Linked DNA regions of Homo sapiens: region 1 is linked to region 2. Evidence: promoter capture Hi-C in 16 types of primary human blood cells and fetal thymus (Javierre and others, 2016). All regions are on one chromosome and are shown on one strand. The core of a region is centred on a gene start or on the middle of the fragment in contact, and the rest is flanking DNA. Distances in the headings are between cores, read along the strand shown. Region 1 overlaps CACNB4 (calcium voltage-gated channel auxiliary subunit beta 4). Region 2 holds the start of NEB (nebulin).

The links. The method cuts DNA at HindIII sites, captures the fragments that hold promoters and counts their contacts. A CHiCAGO score of 5 or more calls a contact.
Region 1: a fragment that was not itself captured here is called in contact with the fragment with the promoter of NEB in region 2 in 1 of 17 cell types (M1 macrophages); the score reaches 5.6 in M1 macrophages.

Annotation. Positions count from the first base shown.
Region 1 is chr2:152,023,742-152,027,876 of GRCh38, forward strand. The region is part of intron 2 of CACNB4 (calcium voltage-gated channel auxiliary subunit beta 4); the gene reads right to left. Among named protein-coding and RNA genes, the nearest start is that of CACNB4, 73 kb to the right of the region's middle. RefSeq lists an enhancer at 2,390-2,459. The HindIII fragment of the contact is 2,245 bases long and covers 1,587-3,831 here.
Region 2 is chr2:151,733,226-151,736,913 of GRCh38, forward strand. It overlaps NEB (nebulin), which reads right to left and starts at 1,251. Exons shown (of 182, transcript NM_001164508.2): 1 at 1,173-1,251; 2 at 487-570. The HindIII fragment of the contact is 3,549 bases long and covers 636-3,688 here.

The DNA of each region.
Region 1 (4,135 bases), core at 1,459-3,958, 290 kb after region 2:
GCATTTAATATGAATTTCTGGACTTACATTTTAAATAGCTTTCCTCCACCGAAGCAATGTGTGAAAACAACAACTTAGGCGTACAACTCAACGAATTGAAAACATTTATGTTATCACAAAGTCAAAACAAGAAACTCTAAAAGCACAGATCAATTAGAACTGTGTCCTGGAGGCACATATCTGTTTACCATGGTGACAATTTACATTTAAGATGAAGAAGCACAATGAATGGATTGTGGTAGGAGTGCTTAAAATATCAGGAGCACCCTAACATGTTTAGTTTAAGAACCAGTGTTGGCTGGGCACAGTGGCTCACGCCTGCAAGCCCAACACTTTGGGAGGCTGAAGGAGGAGGATTGCTTGAGGCCAGGAGGTCAAGACCAGCCTGGGTAATATAATGAGACCTGTCTCTACAAAAAATACAAATAAAAATTAGCCAGGTATGGTGTCACGTGCCTGTAGTCCTAGCTACTCAGGAGGCTGAGATGGAAGGACAAACTAAGCCCAGGAGTTTAAGGTTGCAGTGAGCTATGAATGCGTGCCACTGTACCTCTGTGCCTGGGCAACAGAGCTGTCTCAAAAAAAGAACTAATTGTTTACCAGTTCAAGGTAAATTGAGCAAAATACAAAGTGGTTAAAAAATGAATATATGCAGACTGATTTTGTAATTATTTAGCTGACAATGGCTACTCTTGATCATTTCTGTTTGTCTGTTTCTTTTATATTTAAGTAGCTTCCATAAAGCCTTTGCATAGACAACAATGTAATTTTCTTATTGGATAGCCCTAAAAAATGGCACTAAAAGATTATGTATTACTTTGGCTTTGAATTGTGAAACAAAGCAGTAAGAAATACTTGCCCCAATAGTTGCTTACTAACATAGCATACCAACTATGATAGGGATCCACAGCATCATTGTATATTTCCCCACAAGCAAATCATTACACAATGGAAGGCTGCTACACCCTTAGGGACTTGCCATTGTTTGCAACAATATGGTGGGCATCACACATTTAAATATTGCAAAACCAGGGCTAGGCGTGGTGGCTCACGCCTGTAATCCTAGCACTTTGGGAAGCCAAGGTGGGCAGATCACCTGAGGTCAGGAGTTCAAGACCAGCCTGGCCAACATGGCGACACTCCATCTCTACTAAAAATACAAAAATTAGCCAGGCGTGGTGGCACGTGCCTGTAATCCCAGGTACTCGGGAGGCTGAGGCAGGAGAATCACTTGAACCTGGGAGGCAGGGGTTGCAGTGAGCCAAGATCACACCACTGTACTCCAGCCTGGGCAACAGAGTGAGACTCTGTCTCAAAAAAATAAAAATAATAAATAAATTTTGCAAAACCAGAAATCTGAGGCCCGATATTAACTTTCAACTAATTTGTCATTTTGGCTAAATTATTTGCAAATACTAGCTTATCTATTGCTAGACAGTGAGCAAATTCTATTCTCCTAATCCTACACTACCTCTGAAACCTCTTCTTTCATATGTGTAAATTAAGTTTGATAGCTTTCCTGAAAACAGGAAATTGTTCAAAAGACTTAATTTTTTCTTTCCTGTCATAAAAAGTGTAATAGCTCAAGCTTCAGAGGCGAGAGCTGGGGAACGGTGGAATGAGAACCAAGAAAGACAACGACATTTTCTCTCAAACTGTCTACTTCAGACAACCTTATTCCAGATATGAGCACAAACTGGACTCGCTGCTAGCTCACAGCCTCTATTGTAAGCATAAGAAAGAGCAGAAATAAGACAAATATGCATTGTGCCTTAAATGCAAAGGAAGTGGCTGTAACACTAAAAGAATGATTGCCCAGGGGCCAGATTAAATAAAAAATCTAGGAGTTTGGAATATCTCAAATCATCTATGAAGTACAGAAAATATTTTGTTATTGTGACACAACAGCCTCTCTTCTAAAAGGAAAATAAACTTCAGGAAATTGAACTTCAAAGATGCCACTGTTTCAGTCATCAAAATTGGACATACCGTACTGTGTATTTTAAAGGAATAGTGCCCCCGTGTGGTTTTTGACAAGATTTCAGAAAATGTTCAGCGTTGTCTCAGAAGTCACAGTTACACTTGTTATACAAGAAACAGTGAATTTTTCTTGTGTGGATTTATTTTTAAATGTGATTACAGATGTGTTTGCAGTATAGTAGAAAAACGTCAGAGCTGTGAAGAGCTGTGTTTGCAGCGGGAGGGTTGCTCCATCTATCTCCGTGTTTAGTAAAGAGGATGTGAGAACAGGACGTGCACAGGGCGCCCCCTGCAGGTGCTGATGCAGCCGACACCTCTGGAGGCGCAGGGCCGAGGCCACCACAAGTCACTTGGCATGAATGTCCACAGAGCTTCCTAGGAGCTACCAGAAGTGAACCACATCTCCCCTCTTACCTGCAGTGGGTTCACACACTCTGCCTTTTCTCGTTGTTGTGAACAAACTGACCAAATCCCTTACAGACCGGCCCTTCCACTCGAGCACTGGATCTTACTCCAGGACAGGGCCCCAGCAATTTTCCTCCTTCCCTCCTGAATCTTCAGCGTCTTCCTTTCCACTGGACTGTTTCCATCAGCGTCAACATATAAACATGCTATCATATTAATAAAAACCCTCTCTGGGCTCCACTTCTCTAGTCCCTTTTTTTTTTTTTCTTCTTCTTTGAGACAGGTTCTCGCTCTGTCACCCAGGCTGGAGTGCAGTGGTGCCATCTCTGCTCACTGCAACCTCTGCCTCCTGGGCTCAAGCGATTCTCATGCCTCAGCCCCCTGAATAGCTGGGAATACAGGTGCATGCCACCACGCGCAGCTAATTTTTGTACTTTTAGCAGAGATGAGGTTTCTCCATGTTGGCCGGGCTCGAACTCCTGACCTCAGGTGATCTGCCTGCCTCGGCCTCCCAAAGTGCTGAGATTACAGCCATGAGCCACTGCACTCGGCCTCCACTCCCTTTTACTGCTATAGTACCTAGAAGAATTGTCCATATTAACTGACTCTAACTTCAATCTTTCCATTCTCTCTTGAACCCATTCCAATAAGGCTTTTCTGCTCACTACTCCAGACCAAAACTGGTCTTACTGAGGTCACCAATGGTATCCATATTGTTAAGTCCATTGGGGAATCTTGGGCTCATCTAACTTGACCCATTGACAGCATTTGACACAATTATCTTTCTTTTTTTTTTTTGATACGGAGTTTCACTCTGTCACCCAGGCTGGAGTGCAGTGGTGTAATCTCAGCTCACTGCAACCTCCACCTCCTGGGTTCAAGCGATTCTTCTACCCCAGCCTCCTCAGTAGCTGGGATTACAGGCACATGCCACCATGCCCGGCTAATTTTCGTATTTTTAGTAGAGACAGGGTCCACGTTGGCCAGGCTGGTCTCAAACTCCTGGCCTCAGGTGGTCCGCCCACCTCAGCCTCCCAAAGTGTTGAGATTACAGGCGTGAGCCAGGGCTCCCAGCCACATTCCTCCTTTCTTAGAATCATTTCTTCTGTTGGCTTTCAGGCACCTCCTCCCATTTTTCTGGCCACTCCTTCATCTCCTTTGTATTGTTTCAGCAAATATCTACTGAGAGCCTCTGACTGCCTGGGGCAGTTCTCAGCTGTGGAAATTGGATGCTGAACAAATCAAAGAGCTTACAATCTAGCAGAAGAAACTGTAATTAGATAGATTTTAAATATAAAATCAGGTATTCACAAGTTATGGTCAGGAAAGCCTCCCTGAGTTTTCAAGCTCCTCCCCTGCCACCTCCCCTCCTGACTCACACCAAGGGAAGTGACAGGAAAGCCATGTGCTACCTCTTTGGCTCCAGTGGGAAGCTCAAACCACACAAGCTTTGGCCCCAGCCCAAACCACTGACCACCATAAAAGCCAAAGCCGAGGCGGGCGGATCACGAGGTCAGGAGATCGAGACCAGCCTGACCCACACGGTGAAACCCAGTCTCTACTAAAAATACAAAAATTACCTGGGCTTGGTGGCGCACGCCTATAATTCCAGCTACTCAGGAGGCTGAGGCAGGAGAATCGCTTGAACCCGGGAGGCGGAGGTTGCAGTGAGTCGAGATTGTTGCCACTGCACTCCAGCCCGGGCGACAGAGTGAGACTCCGTCTCAAAAAAAAAAAAAAAAAAAAAAAA
Region 2 (3,688 bases), core at 1-2,500:
TTCCCAGCACAGAAATTATCTTATGACATTATAAAAATAGAATTTGAAGCTAAACTATTGTACAAATTCATATATTGTTGCAGGCTAAAGGAGAGAAGACATTTAAAATACAAGTATAAACAGCAGAAGCTTCAAATTTCTTTCTCTTTATTCCTTCAGTGTTGGGAATTGCTACTTCTACATAATCAGTTTAGTTAAAATTGTAAAACGAAATTGAGGTAAGGAAGTGAGAGAGTTTGGACTCAGGGAACAGAGAATTTAAACTTCCAAACACTTAGAGAAAAGACATTTTCCAGCAAAAATTTTAGTGAAAGGTCAGCTTGGGTTTCAGAAGAAGCTGAAATTTATCCCCCAGCACCAAAATTCTAAGAGGGCTGACTTAGTTTTCCATACTGCCCTGATCCACTGTTTGCAATATATCTTAGGCTTCAAATTGGAACCCATAAAAATACATCTGTCAATAAATTTTAAAAGAAAAAAAGAAACCTCAAGGCAATGGGGTTATTTTCTTCCCGAACACCATTGGCTTATACAGACTTTTTCTTTCGTTTCTGTAGCTCTCGTTCAAACCTGAAAAATAACAAAGTTGTAAAGCATTGATTGAGGTACATATAGGATTGTCAGTCCTTAGCCTAAGCTTCTAATGCAGAAAACAGCGAAAGGATCTCTCAAGGCCTCTACAGTTTGACGCCAGAGAGTAAGACTCTTGATATGAAGTGGATGATGAGTTGGAACAGCTGTCCCTTCATCCAAAGATGTTTGCCATGTAAACCAATACCCTGCAGTGGCTGGTTTTGTTAAGCTAGCGAAACTGCCACTCCTCAGGCAAATGAAGCCCAGTAGAACAGGATAAATATAGGAACGTAGAGCAGCGTATCTTCTTTTTCACACTAATATATTTAGAGAAAAATATCAAAGGCAAAAAAATGTTAGACAAGAGAGCCAATTCAGTCAAGCAATAAATTGGTTAGCAAAGGACTTGACTCTAATCACACACGGTACATAGCAGATATTAGTAGGGCCTTAGTAGGGCAATGGGGTTAAACTCTCCTAGCCATATTTCTACCACTAATTTCCTCAGTTATGGCCCAAACCTTTGAAAAATACTTCGAGGGAAGTTGTGGAGCATCTCCTGAAAGAGTATTACAGAAAAAGTCATAAACTGGCCTTACCTTCAATCTACCAAATAAATTTCCTCAGCAGCAAAGCCTCTCCCAACTCTCCCCTCCTGAGAACCCCAGGCAAAAGCCAGCGTGATGCCTGGGCTCCGAATTATCATGTGGCAAGAGCAACCAATCAGATCTTGAGTTGCTCAAATTTCAGAAGCTAAATTTACCAAGTGATCTTCTGAAAACCACCTGTTCATCAATTCCACTAAAGGATAAAGGGTAACAAATTGCTTGCTTAGAACAATTCAAATGGAATCAAATTTTACCTAACTTCCAGCCTGTGCAGTTCAATTTTAGGTTGAATTTCCCATTTACTGAGGCCCCATTCAATGTCATATTCATGCAAAAGAATTTAGTAGAAAATAAGCATGACTTTGAGAGGCTTTAACCCTTCCGTGACTGCTTTCTTCATGTCATTTGTCCAGTCATGGTGGTAAATGTACTCACTCTGGTAAGGTTCACCAGGTGAGCTACAGGTAAGTTACTGGTGCTAGTGTGAAAGAAACTGAGGAATAAGACCCAGTAAACATCAAGTTGACAAAAGCAATTTTTAAAAATGTGATGAGTGAAGTTAAAGGTGAAAATATTTGACAATGGCACTAAATAAGATATCCACAGGGTGTAATTAGAAAGATTAGACCCCATCATTTTTCTGTTACTAAACCAAGAGGGTATACCAAAATCCTATTTAGCACCTTCTCCCTCCTTAGATAAGGCAAGCTGCTAGGAATACAGAACCTCTCTCATATGTAACCGAGTTAGTGATTTTTCTATTAACTCAGATGACTCCTGGCTCCCAGAAGCAACGTGTGAATGCGGACACAAACAGGCTCAATTTCTGAACAGCAAGAGCAGATAACATGGAAATCAGTAACTTATCAGGAGAAAATAATGCCCTATTTGGCAAATCCGAACGTAAGACATTTCCTTCATAAAAATTATCTAACCATTTTCTTAAAACTTGCCTGATGTCTTTCTTGCACTTTCTTTGCTCCTGAAGTATTTTTTCTAATTTAAAATCTAATTCTATCTGTCTGTCTGTCTGTCCTTACACACAGCGACAGAAATCACAGGCTCTTATGTGACAGAGAACTGCTCTTTCTCTGGGTTGCTCCTGTATTCAGGCAAAACCCTGTGAGTCACCTATATCTTGATATGGATTTGAGATTAAACATATTGTAATATTTTTTCTTTTTTAAGTTAAACATTAGAAAGTAATCTCGCTGGGCGTGGTGGCTCACGCCTGTAATCCCAACACTTTGGGAGGCCGAGGCGGGCAGATTGTCTGAGGCCAGGAGTTTGAGAAAGTAATCTCATATTTCAAATACATGTACCTTTTCCCCCTCCATGATTCACATGGTAGTAAATAAAATCTAACAGAATTTTATCATCTTAACTGATTATACCTGTTCATCTTGTATGTTCTCACAGGTCTTATGACCAAAGGATATTTATGTAATATGAGATCACTCACTTGGTAGCTGCAAACTAGAATTGTGACTTACTAGTCATTACATGCTTTAAAATGTGTTGTTGAATTAAAAAATAATACAGGCCCATACTTTAAAAACATAGAGTACAAAATTATATAAAGTAAAAAATGAGCATTGACCTTCTTAGTCATTTTTAAGTTTCAGATATTTTCAATATAGATATTGACATAAATCGATATACTTAATATGCAATAGACATTTTTATGAAACATCACATAAACATATCCTACTCTAATTTCCACAAATAATTCTATTGATTGGATAGAGTATAATAGTTTAATCATTATTAATGGACATCTAGGTTGTTTCGAGGTTTTTGCTATTACAAAATAAAGCAAAACAATGCGAAACAAAACACACAGTAAGCATCCCTGTACATTACCTTTGTATACTTATATGAAATGTATCTGTAAGGTAAATTTCTAGAAATAGAAATACTGAGGCAGAAGATATATGCACATTTTGAAAATTGATAGATATTGTCAAGTTGCCAGTCAAAATCCTTACACTATTTTATGTTTCACTAACAGAGAATGAGGGTTCCTATGTATACACATCTCAATATCCTTAGGGATTATTAGACTGAAAAATCATTACTATCTGAGCTGAATGTGTCCCCCCAAAATTTATATGTTGAAGTCCTACCCCCCGATGTGTGGAAAGTGATTGGGTCATAAGGGTGGAGCCCTCACGAATGGGATTAGTACACTTATGAAAGAGGCCCCAGAGAGCTGCCTGGCACTCTCTCTGCCATGTGAAGTTACAGGGGGATGATGGCCAGCCACAACCTGAAAGAAAGTCCTCACTAGAACCCAACCATGCCAGCACCCTGATCTTAGACATCCAGCCTCTAGAACTATGAGAAGTAAATTTCTGTTTATAAGCCATCCAGCTTATATTATTTCTGTTATAGCAGACCAAATGGACTAAGACACTCTTTATACATTACTTTTGAAACCACTATGATAGTAAATAGAAGTGCTACAGATGAGCAGAACCTCAAACTCCATTCATAATGAAGTGTGC